Regions from separate parts of the Homo sapiens genome. Here regions 1 and 2 are each linked to region 3. The links are contacts of gene promoters, found by promoter capture Hi-C in blood cells and fetal thymus (Javierre and others, 2016). All regions are on one chromosome and are shown on one strand. The core of a region is centred on a gene start or on the middle of the fragment in contact, and the rest is flanking DNA. Distances in the headings are between cores, read along the strand shown.

What was found. Contacts are between HindIII fragments. The CHiCAGO score rates a contact against its expected background, and 5 or more counts as called.
Region 1: a fragment that was not itself captured here is called in contact with the fragment with the promoter of OLIG3 in region 3 in 1 of 17 cell types (non-activated CD4 T cells); the score reaches 5.2 in non-activated CD4 T cells.
Region 2: a contact is called between a fragment that was not itself captured here and the fragment with the promoter of OLIG3 in region 3, in 1 of 17 cell types (non-activated CD4 T cells). The highest score is 5.0, in non-activated CD4 T cells.

Annotation. Positions count from the first base shown.
Region 1 is chr6:137,567,243-137,570,760 of GRCh38, forward strand. No RefSeq gene overlaps it. Among named protein-coding and RNA genes, the nearest start is that of OLIG3, 75 kb to the left of the region's middle. The HindIII fragment of the contact is 796 bases long and covers 1,081-1,876 here.
Region 2 is chr6:137,614,350-137,618,012 of GRCh38, forward strand. No RefSeq gene overlaps it. Among named protein-coding and RNA genes, the nearest start is that of LINC03004, 49 kb to the right of the region's middle. RefSeq lists an enhancer at 1-1,119. The HindIII fragment of the contact is 1,481 bases long and covers 1,274-2,754 here.
Region 3 is chr6:137,492,847-137,496,229 of GRCh38, forward strand. It overlaps OLIG3 (oligodendrocyte transcription factor 3), which reads right to left and starts at 1,548. Exons shown (of 1, transcript NM_175747.2): 1 at 1-1,548. The coding sequence starts at 1,324. The coding sequence ends at 506. RefSeq lists enhancers at 458-957, 2,639-3,172, 3,173-3,383. The HindIII fragment of the contact is 6,431 bases long and covers 1-3,383 here.

The DNA.
Region 1 (3,518 bases), core at 229-2,728, 74 kb after region 3:
GGCATCTCTAAATCATGGTCTTTGTCTTCCCATGGTTTTCACTGAGTCAATAAAGGACACAGTCAAGTATCCTTCAGGTGATCACAACACACTGGTGAGAGCCATAAGTGAGTCCAAAGTGGAGAAATGTATCCCAGAAAAGTGGTGTCTAAGCTGAGATGTGCAGGTGAGTAGGAGTTAGCCAAGCAAATATTCTGCCTGTGAAAGGTTTCAGGCAAAAGGATCAGTCTTTAGGAAGGTTCTGAGGTAGAAAATGGTTTGGCAATTTTGTTAGATTGCTGCAAAATTGAACAATTTACATAAGGGTGAGGGGAGGGTACCTCAGGAGGCTCGGCTGCATACCAGTCCCTGATTCCTTCTGTTTCTGCCTTATTCTCCCAGCCCTCTCCTTCTTTGACTTAAGCCAGCCTGAGTGCCTTTTAATGATTTATAAGTAGAAACAATCCTAATCAATAAAAGTTACCACTTAGTAAATAATGCAGTGAGCATAAGTGGTGGAGATTCTGCTCTTCTGGAGAGAGGAGTGGTCAGATTATAGAGTTAATTTACAATGAGAAAAATCTCCCATTGTTAAAGTTTTCTTTGAACAATCTCTTGGATGATCTGCCAAGGCATCCACTGAGAGGCATTCAGGAGGGAGACAGCCTGGAGAAGAGAGGCCTAGCTCCCTGTCCTGCTCACCCCAGGGCGCAGATTGTGGTTGGAATGTCAGGGGACTGACAGTTTACATTTGTGCTTCTTCCATTAGCCAATGGTATATTGCTGAATTTGTGTCGAATGTATTTATGTAAGTTGAATGGGAATTCATTGATAGTGAATAGATGGAGACTGTTGTGGTTAGAGACAGAGTGGACACACACACACACACACAAATTTGGTTTGGATGGCAAGACTGCTGATGCCACACATGTACCAGAGGGAATGAAAAGGTTATGACTTACAGAATGAGGCTTTCTGGGGAGAGTGGGTAGGCTCCCAAGCAGGTCCACAAATGGCTTGAGAGAGCAGTGAAAGCAAATGACTTGGCTTTTCTTGTGGTTAGGGGATGGGGTTGGCATAACGGATCTTGGGTGCAGCTGAAGCTTGTGTGATTTGAACCAAAAGAGAGATCACCCAGGCTTTCTTACCAGCTTGTCCAGATATGGGGCAAGAGGGGAAGGGGGAAGACTGGGGATTGAAAGTTGTTTGCAAACATCAAAAATGGAGTCAGACTCTTTATTACAAAGAGATTTTCTGATATTTTATTTTTCTGCTTCTGATTGATGATATTTTCAAGGATCCTGTACATTAGTGTGCAACTTTGCACTAATGTATACATTAGATCTATCAAACACGGTCTGGCAGGAAAGCGTTAGCATACGAAAATGGGGTAGTTTGAAGAGAGTTTAACAAAGGGGCAATTAGCAAAAGTGTGGGTAAAGTATCAGAAAACAACAAGGGATACTGCAATGTCCAAGGATGAATAATAACATCTGGGGCTCCATTAAATACTCACTTTTGATGGAGAAGGCAAAGGAGAGGTTGCCAAAACCCGGACAGTTGTCAGAACCCAGAAAAGGAGGAGGAGAAGGAGGGGAGGGGGAGGAGGGGGGAGAGAGAGAGAGATCGGTATGGAGAGGGCTACCTAACAGGGGCTGTGCCCTTAGGAAATCAGCCACCTACAAAGATCCCCTCCAGAAAGGTCACAAGGAGCCCATAATACCCCAACTTCACTTTCTTTCCTCCCTCTGATCTGCCATTACCCCCCAGTGGCCAACTCAACCAGAAGTCAGAGGGCAAGGCTGCCGGCTGAAGCAGTTTGTAAAGTCTACCTTTCAGGATACAGAGAGGTCTCGAGAGGGATTTGCAGGGGCAGGAGAAGATTTCCAGTTTAGGAAGCTTCACTGGGTTTTACCCTTTGGCGATAGGATGGAAGCCTGAGTCTACCCATAGACAATTTGGTGAAAGTAACTGTTCCCCTGTTCTCCACTCTTCTGGGAAGGTTAATAGGTCTTAGCATATAACATACAAAAGTTCTTGTATTTTAAATGGGTGGTTTTCATTACACATGGAGTGGTAATTTGGGATATGTAAAGAAATATGTTTTGTGCCTTCTTTCTCTTGCTTTCTTTTAAATAAATGTTAGAAGTTCAGAGAAAAGAAGAGCCAGGACAGGACAGCATAGAAAGTATATGGTAATGTGCACCAAAGCCTTGGGCATAGTGATAGGTCAAGTGCTTACTCATCAAGCTATCTGCAAAATCCTATCAGAAAACCTCCCATGAGAAATGTGACGAACAAGATTGACTTTGCAGGGACTGTCTTACGATGAGTACTTCATCTTGTCTATCTCGTCTGTATCAAAGTTTAATTCCTTTATCCAAGTTCTTAATAAAGGAATTAATTCTTTTATCCCATCTGTGTGCCACACACCCTATGCTAATTAATTAAAGTATATGGGAGTTCGTACACACAGCACAGGAGTACTGAGGCTAGCTGAGCCATAAAGCAGTTGTTTGGTGTTCTCTGCTTCTATTCCTACCCTTTTCCTATGGAGTCAAAATTTAACGCCAGCACACATTGATAACAACACAGCAGCTTTTCTGAAATTTATTTTCCATTCTAAAATGCATTTGCATTTCAAGTACTTATTTTGGCCTTCATTTTCATGCAATTTTGTTTATAGCACTAGAAATAGGGCAGTGTGACTTTTTGTTCCTTTTATTACTCCAATCTGATACCCAAAGAGATGAAGTCAAAATCATTAAGCAAATGGTAGGAAGCAATCAATGTTTCTAAATAAAAGGTCACACAATAAGGAAAGATGAAAGTGAAATACAGAAAATAACTCACTGATTTGGCTCAAAAATCTTTACATTTTTATCGATCTACAAGTAAAACATTGAAATGAAAAATAAAGCTTCATTTGGCATTCCTTGGTAACTATGACATTTCTATTGAGCAATGGACTGAGTCGATACATAGCCATTTTTGGAAACTCCTTTGGGTTAAAAAAAAATAAGAATAGGAAAAAACTGAGATCAGGCATGAGCTTTCCTTATAGGTTGACTAGCAAGGCTTCCCAAACTATGAATGCTTCAGGCGTTTATTCTAGCACATGTTCAGGGTAGCTACAATCGGTGCAAAAAGGAAAAATTTTTTAAATAGACAGTGGAGATGTGTTCTGGGAACAGAAATGAATATGTCCTAAGGTGTGGCCCTGGAGCCAGGAGCCATCCTGCAATGTCAGGGAAATGCAGTTAACGACCTCCAAGCTTAGTTGTTAAGACGATGATCACGGGCATGTTTGGTATATTTTTCCCCCCAAGTTTGGCAAGCAGCCTAACTAAATGAAACCTCTCAGTGTGCTGATGTTTATAGTACTCGATTAGTGTCAGCTCAGAATGAAATAAATACACGTAGCAATGCCTTTTGCAGAGGCAGCTTCACTTGAACGTGTTGACACAAAATGTTTGCTTTCTGTTACATACATATTGGACTCTTTAAAATGCTCTTAAGTAAAACGATACACCGAGTAG
Region 2 (3,663 bases), core at 764-3,263, 120 kb after region 3:
GGTAAAACAGGGAAGAATGGAAATGAGAAATTTCCTAAGACCTCAGGAAGGAGAATAGGAAGAACCTAGAGCAAGTCAAATGTCAGGGAGAGTGAGGAGCTGGGATATGATAACAGCACCAAGGTACAGAAAAAAGTTGCACAACTGTCCTATTAACATACCAGATTTGATTTGACTCCATTATATTTCATAAAATAGTTTAGAAAACCCCCAGCATAAAACACCATCATAATTGTAATCATATATTTGGAGATTTAATGTGCACACCATAATGTACCATTAGTTACACAAATAACTAATAATTTGCTAATGACAATATTATGTTAAGTCAGTTTAGGGGCAATTAAAGTGAGTGATATTTACATATGCCTAATGAATCACAGTCGATGGCAGATTAAGAGATTCTAATGAATATTCATCCAGACATTCGCAACCAGCTTCACAGTTTATAAACTGAATTATGGTTGATTTGCCCTTTTAAAAATGAATATGTGAGTATCTTCTGCATGGTGAGAATGAACAATTGGGCCTGACTGTAAAATTTTTTTTAAAGCAATGTACTGGTCAGAACACAAAACATTTTTATGCACTCTCATACCCTCCGCTTCGCTGTTCTTTTTTATATCACAGATCAGTGTTGACGAACTATCTCCATTTTCATTCTAATCTATGACATGAAATATAGAAATTGTTTAGTATAAGATTAAATGGAATACAAGTTTTATGCAGCCCCACTGAGGAAATAATTACAGGTAGTCTTTGCTATTGAAACAGCGAATACACACTCTTTTTTTATGCAACTCAGAAGGCTGTTTTTGTAGCTATACTTTGTCATGATAAAATTGGGGTAGATTTACTATTCTTGCAACTTGGTCATTTAAAACAATAACAAAGCAAACAAAAACACCTTGCTTTGGCCCCGTTAACACAAATTAAGACCAAACAAGGTTATGGTTTGAACATTTACTTTTTCCTCAAAACTATAGCCCTTTCTGCCTTTACTAGCTGTTCCTCATAAATATTGTGAGTTTTATCCCTGTTGCAAAAACAAAGGCCAAACTCTTTTTGTCTCCCTCAAGGCCCCACAATAGGTTTATGACAGACTTGATGCCTATAGCCCCCATTTCTGTTTTACCTTAAATCAGACAATGTTGTTTCTCTGCTATTCAGATTAGAAAGGTATTCATGATTGCCCTTATTATTTCTTTACATGAGGAGATAGAGGCTAGAACCAGAGCATTTGGATGATGGGAGTTACTAAGACAATTGAGTAAGCTTGTGCTTGATGTTTGTTCCATATAAGATGTCAACCTCATATTAACACAATATTAAGTGAAATCTTAAGCATTTTAAAGGCCTACGAGATTAACTTCGAAGCTGACATTTCCATTCAGCATGTTTTCACAATGTACTTTCATAATTTCATTGCATGTTATTAAAACTTTTAAAGGTCAAATAGTATGACACTTGTCAGAATTGATGACTTTTTGCTTTCCAAAAATCATGCCAATTGAGTATATTGCCAGTAGGGTTAAAGAAGGACTTTGTCCACCCAATCTCTCTGTGGCCACCTAAAAGCTCATTGTGATTTCTTTGCGCTGATATTCTATTCATAGAACTTTGAATGTGAATGTCTGATTCCTGGAGATCTGGTGTTCCTGGGTGAGCTTAGTTGGGCAAATTTCTGCCTGCAGCACCTTCAGGGAGGTTTCTAGCAGTGCTTTTGTCATCAGTGAGTCGGCACGCCATTCAGCTCCATAAACCATGCATGCTCTAGGAAGGCAGCACATTCACTGTCTCCATCACACTTTTGCTTTAAAATCTTTTGCTGTTTTTTCTCAGGTGCACGAAATTTGATACATTCAGTCCTCCTCCTCATATCATGCTCTTTTGGACTATGGAAGAATTAGGATTCTTGCTTTCATTCCCAGATGCCCTCACGTGAAATAGATTTTGAAGGCCTTGCTAAGCCCTGAATACAGATGCCCTGATACCAGTTTGTCCTTGTGCTGCTGGAAGCAAGACTAGTCCCATCTCGACTACCCCTCCTCACCCCTGGGTCTTTTGAAGGTTGGGCTGGAAACTACAGATGAGTTTTGAACTATGATCCCTAGGGCTCTGGGACTCTAGTGAATGTCTCACGGGTTTCTGCAGAGAACAGGGTGGTGCCCCACAGGCACTGCCTCAGGCCTCATACTCCAGCTTTCATCTGGGCTTCCTTGGTTCTCTCTGTTTTAATTATTTTACTAGAAAGGAAGTATACTTCTGCTAGAACTTGTTTGGGAAATCACTGATACAGTGAGGAACAAGTGCAGGGATTTTGTAGTCAGGCAGACCACAGTTCAAATCTGTGCTCTACTGTTCGCATGACATTTGGTAAATTACTACTTCGAGCATCCATTTCCTTATCTGTTAAACTGGAATAGGATAACTACCTCTCAGATTTGTGGCAAAGATGAAATGGATTTGCATATTGATTGTACTGCTGGGTACTTTCTAAGTGCTTTAGAAATGTTGGTCTTCTCTTTCTTCTCTTACTGGTTATGCTAGTAATCTAAACTCAAAAAAATTCAATTGAGGTAGAGTGATCATGTGTCCTAGTTTGCCTAGAATAGTTTTGGCTTCTCCCTGTTCTCCCAGCATAATTTTTCAGTGTCTTGCATGTTTAGCAGTGTCCCAGTTTGGATGACAGAGTAAGAGATTACCCCCAATTCTGCTGGCAGTTTATAAATTAACTTGATCTTCTTAGGTACAAGCTTGCTGCTGCCATTTTCAGGCAGTACAGCAATTGCATTTGACATTAAGCCCTGAAACTCATGCCCCCCTTGTCCCCCGCCAGGAACTGTTGAAAATCTGAAGTCAAAAAGGAGAATCTATTCATGACAGTAGCAAATGATGAATGATCACATACCAAGTGCTTGTGTGGATTCAACACAGAACCAGATGCTTTATGAATGAAATTACACTCTCTGAGGAAGATATTAGTGTCCCCATTCTGCGGATAAGGAACTGAGGCTCAAAACAGTTACATAGACAACAAATAGGCAGAGGAGTTTGAATTTAATCCCAATAATCTGCCTTTTTGTATACAGCAAATAGAATACTTCAAAAGTTACCTTATATATTTTTATTATATTTACAGCTCTACAAGTCTCTCTCTCTCTGTATTTGCCAGATGTTCATTTATTTATTTATTTATTGTTGTATTTGTTTATTTTTTTGAGACAGGGTCTCACTCTGTCGCCCAGGCTGGAGTGCAGTGGCACGATCTTGACTCACTGCAACTTCCACCTCCAGGGTTCAAGAGATTCTCATGCCTCAGCCTCCTGAGTAGCTGGGACTACAGGTGCACATCACCACACCTGGCTGGTTTTTGTTTTGGTGGAGACAGGGTTTCACCATGTTAGGCTGGTCCCAAACTCCTGACTTCAAATGATTGACCTGCCTCAGCCTCCCAAAGTACTGGGATTGCAGGCATGAGCCACTGTGCCCCAGATGTTCAGTTTTTTAAAATGCAGGGTTGGCATTTTCAAAATTTGTATAAGTATTTCCTTAGTCTTGTAAGGCTTTTTCTGTAAGTCTTATATAAGTATTTTTCAGGGGAAATCATTAATGTAGCATTTATATCTTTAGACTTTCATATCATGAGGTAGGAATCAGTGT
Region 3 (3,383 bases), core at 298-2,797:
TTGTCTCTAGAAAAACTGTGGCAAGGACAGAGACAATCATAATCGCATCCATCTCAAGAAAATATTTACATTTGTTTTGCACAAAAGGGATGGCCGTCTTTTTCCAAAGCGAGAACACAGAGTCAGAGAAAGCCAACTCAAAAGTCCCTTCGCAAGTTTTTAACTACACCGATCCCATCTTTATACAACAAATGCAGTTTTGACAAGAGCATATGGCAGTGAAAAATACTGGCGCGGCATGGGGAAAAGAAGCATGCATGCAAAACACACGACATCTGGTTCGAGTCCCCCTTTGCTACCACCTAGAAATTGCGGTTTGATTTTGGTCCTTTCCCTCCGGGGGTCAAGTGGAGTCTGAGATCTCTCAGACAGCGTGGGAGGCTGCGGGCCCCGGAGCCTGCCCTCCCGTGGGCCGAGCGTGCAGCCTCCCTCTTCCCTCCCGGCCCGGCACCGCGGCCCCTCCCGCCGCTCTCCCTCCTCCTTGGCAGCCGGGCCCGCCCGCTGCTCACTTGAGCAAGTCCTTGGACTCGGCCGACAGCCGGGCCATGTTGGCTGTGGAGAGAGCGGACAGGTGCGGCGGCGGCGGCATCTGGCAGATGGTGCAGGGGCAGGGCAGACCAGCCCAGTGCTGGAAGCCGCTGCCCAGCTGCAGCGCGGGCGGCGTGGAGGGCGCCTTGAGTAGCGAGTGGGGAGGCCGGATGGTGCCGATGGCGGGAAGTGAGGCGGCGGACAGCGGTGACGAGGCGTTGCCAGATGAGAGCGCGCCGCCCAAGATGGGGTGCACCGGGTGCACGGAGTTGGCCGCGTGCGCGGGGTGGCCGGCCGAGTGGCCCACGGTCCCGCAGTGAAAGGCCGAGTGGTGGCCCCCATAGATCTCGCCAACCAGCCTCTTCATCTCCTCCAGGGAGCTGGTGAGCATGAGGATGTAGTTTCTGGCGAGCAGGAGTGTGGCGATCTTGGAGAGCTTGCGCACCGACGGCCCATGCGCGTAGGGCATGACTTCGCGCAGCCCGTCCATGGCTAGGTTCAGGTCGTGCATCCGCTTGCGTTCGCGTCCGTTGATCTTCAGCCTCAACTGCTGTAGGTCCTGCTCCGACAGCTGCTTCTTGATTTTGTACTTGCTGCTCTCTCCCGCGGCCTTGGCGCCAGCCCGCGAGAGGCTTTCCCCGGGCATCTTCTGCATCATATCGCCCTGCGTGGACGAGACCGAGTTGAGACGGCTCTCCTGGTGGTGGTGGTGGCGGTGGTGGTGGTCCCTCAGGTACATCTCATCCATGTCCGGAGATGAAGCTCTGCTGGAGACAGAGCTCGAATCAGAATTCATTTTATTACAGGGGATGCGGCCCTACCGTGGGGAGGCTTTAGGCGGGAAATTAAAGAAAATCTTGAATTAAAAAAAAAAAATCTGCACTGCCCAGGAACCCACTTCTCCGCGGCAAGACGTGAGAAGAAAAGCGGAGACGCTGCTTTTCCCCGCCTCTCTCCCTCCCACGCCCCTCTCTCTGGTTAGGCTGCTTCCTGGACAGCTAGTTGGTGTGTGCTTGAACTAACCTCACGCTGAAAAAGAGGGGCTTTTATAGAGCTGCGGCGGAGAAAAGAGACAAAAGGAGCCCTCCTATCTATCCTGGGCTGGTTAGGATGACGTGCCATCATTCAGGGCGGTGCGCTTTGCTGTCCCATTTAGCAAGGATTCCTATTCATATTCATTGTGGGGCCGCCCTGGGACACCTCTGCTCCGAACCGCTAGGAGCCCCCAGGCACAAAACCCTCTGATTGACACACTCACCGCTCCAGCTTACGCCTTCCTGATTTTTTTTTTAACTTTCTTCCACCCCACCCCCCTTCCCAATTTCTCTAACCAAATCACACATCAGGAACGGAAGGAAGGCAAGAGAAGGTGGCCAGGCGGTTGGTGGAGGTTCCTCTGAGTTTGGAGAGAGGAATTGAAACATTCGCTCTCCTTTCTTTCCTGGCTGCTCCCAAGTTTAGAGAAATATGGGCAAAAATAGGTCTCAGTGGAAAGGTTTGAGGGACAGAGGTGCGGTCGGAGGGAAGGTGCTGCCAGCGGGGGCTGGGGGTGGTGGGAAGACTGCATGCCGACTTTCTCTGTCTCAATATTTTTTTTTCATTAGATCTCTTTTCCTAAACACTTCCATTCTGTCAATTTTGTTTATTGGGCCCTTCTGGTGTGGTTTCAACGGGATGTCCATGTTCGGTGATGGCTTTGCTCCTGGCAGTATTGTGGCGGAGAGGTCTCTTATTTTCTGTGTCCTCTCTTTCGTTTTAAAACATGGATTTCTAAAAGAATTTCAGTTTTGCACAATTCTTTAACTTCCTAGACCAAAAACTGCGAAAAAAAAATGTTAATGTCACAAGAAAAGCAACTTGGGAGGATGGGAAGGAAAAGGAGCCAAGGAGGCAGAGAGAGAGATTGTTAGGTTCCTGAGAGCTCCAGAGAGATTGTTCCCACTCCAGGCTTCCTGGACCTTGGCGCTGGCGCAAAACGGTGGGACGGTCCGCGCCCGAAGCTCCGCCGGGCCTCCTCTGGCCGCTGTGCTGACGTGCCCCGAGCTCCGGGAACTCAGCGGCACCCCGGCCTGCGCGGGTGGGTCCACCAGGCTGGGGCCGCCGTACGGCGTCGGACAGGGAAATCAGAAGCTCATAATAAACTATCTGATGTCGGGGTGGTGGGGCGGGGGGGTGGGGTGCGTGGGCAAAGAAGCACGGGGGAAGGGAAACAACGAAAGGACCTAGAAAGCCCCTTGTGCGTGCCCGGGCACTGCGGTTCAGCGCAGAGTCGTTTCTGGGAATAAAGAGGAGGTCGGAGTTTGGAGCCTTCGGTGCGAGTGCGGAGGTGGGCGTAGATCTTTCTTCCCCCTTGCTGTGTTTTTGTGATCAAGACTTTAGCTCAGCAGCACGAGGGGCGGGAAGGCAGAAATCCCGGGAAGGGAGAGAGCCCCAGGAGTGGTCTCTAGAAGAACCCGGACACCGCCCCTCTCCCGGCTTGGTGGAACGGGAAACAAACGCTAGCTAGTGACTGAGAGTCTCGGTGGAAGTGTGAAATCGAATCAATCGCGGAACCTCGGGCACTTGGGGCCTCTTGCGCCGCTGAGTCACTTCGAAGAACAGGATGCCCCCCTTTCCCTTGACTCAAACCGAGCGGTCAGTGGGAGAGGGATGCGCGCCCAGGTCCGGAGTTTGCACGCTCTGAGGCTGTGCCCCACTGACAGTCACGCTGCGAAGGCAGCTCTGGCCAATACCAGAAGGATGGGCAAACGCAACATTGGCATGGATGCTTTTGCTACACCGAATTTTGTTTTTCTGTAATGGGGGAAAAATGGCCAACAGCCCTTCGTCAAGGCCAGGAAGTTAGTGCTCTTGCA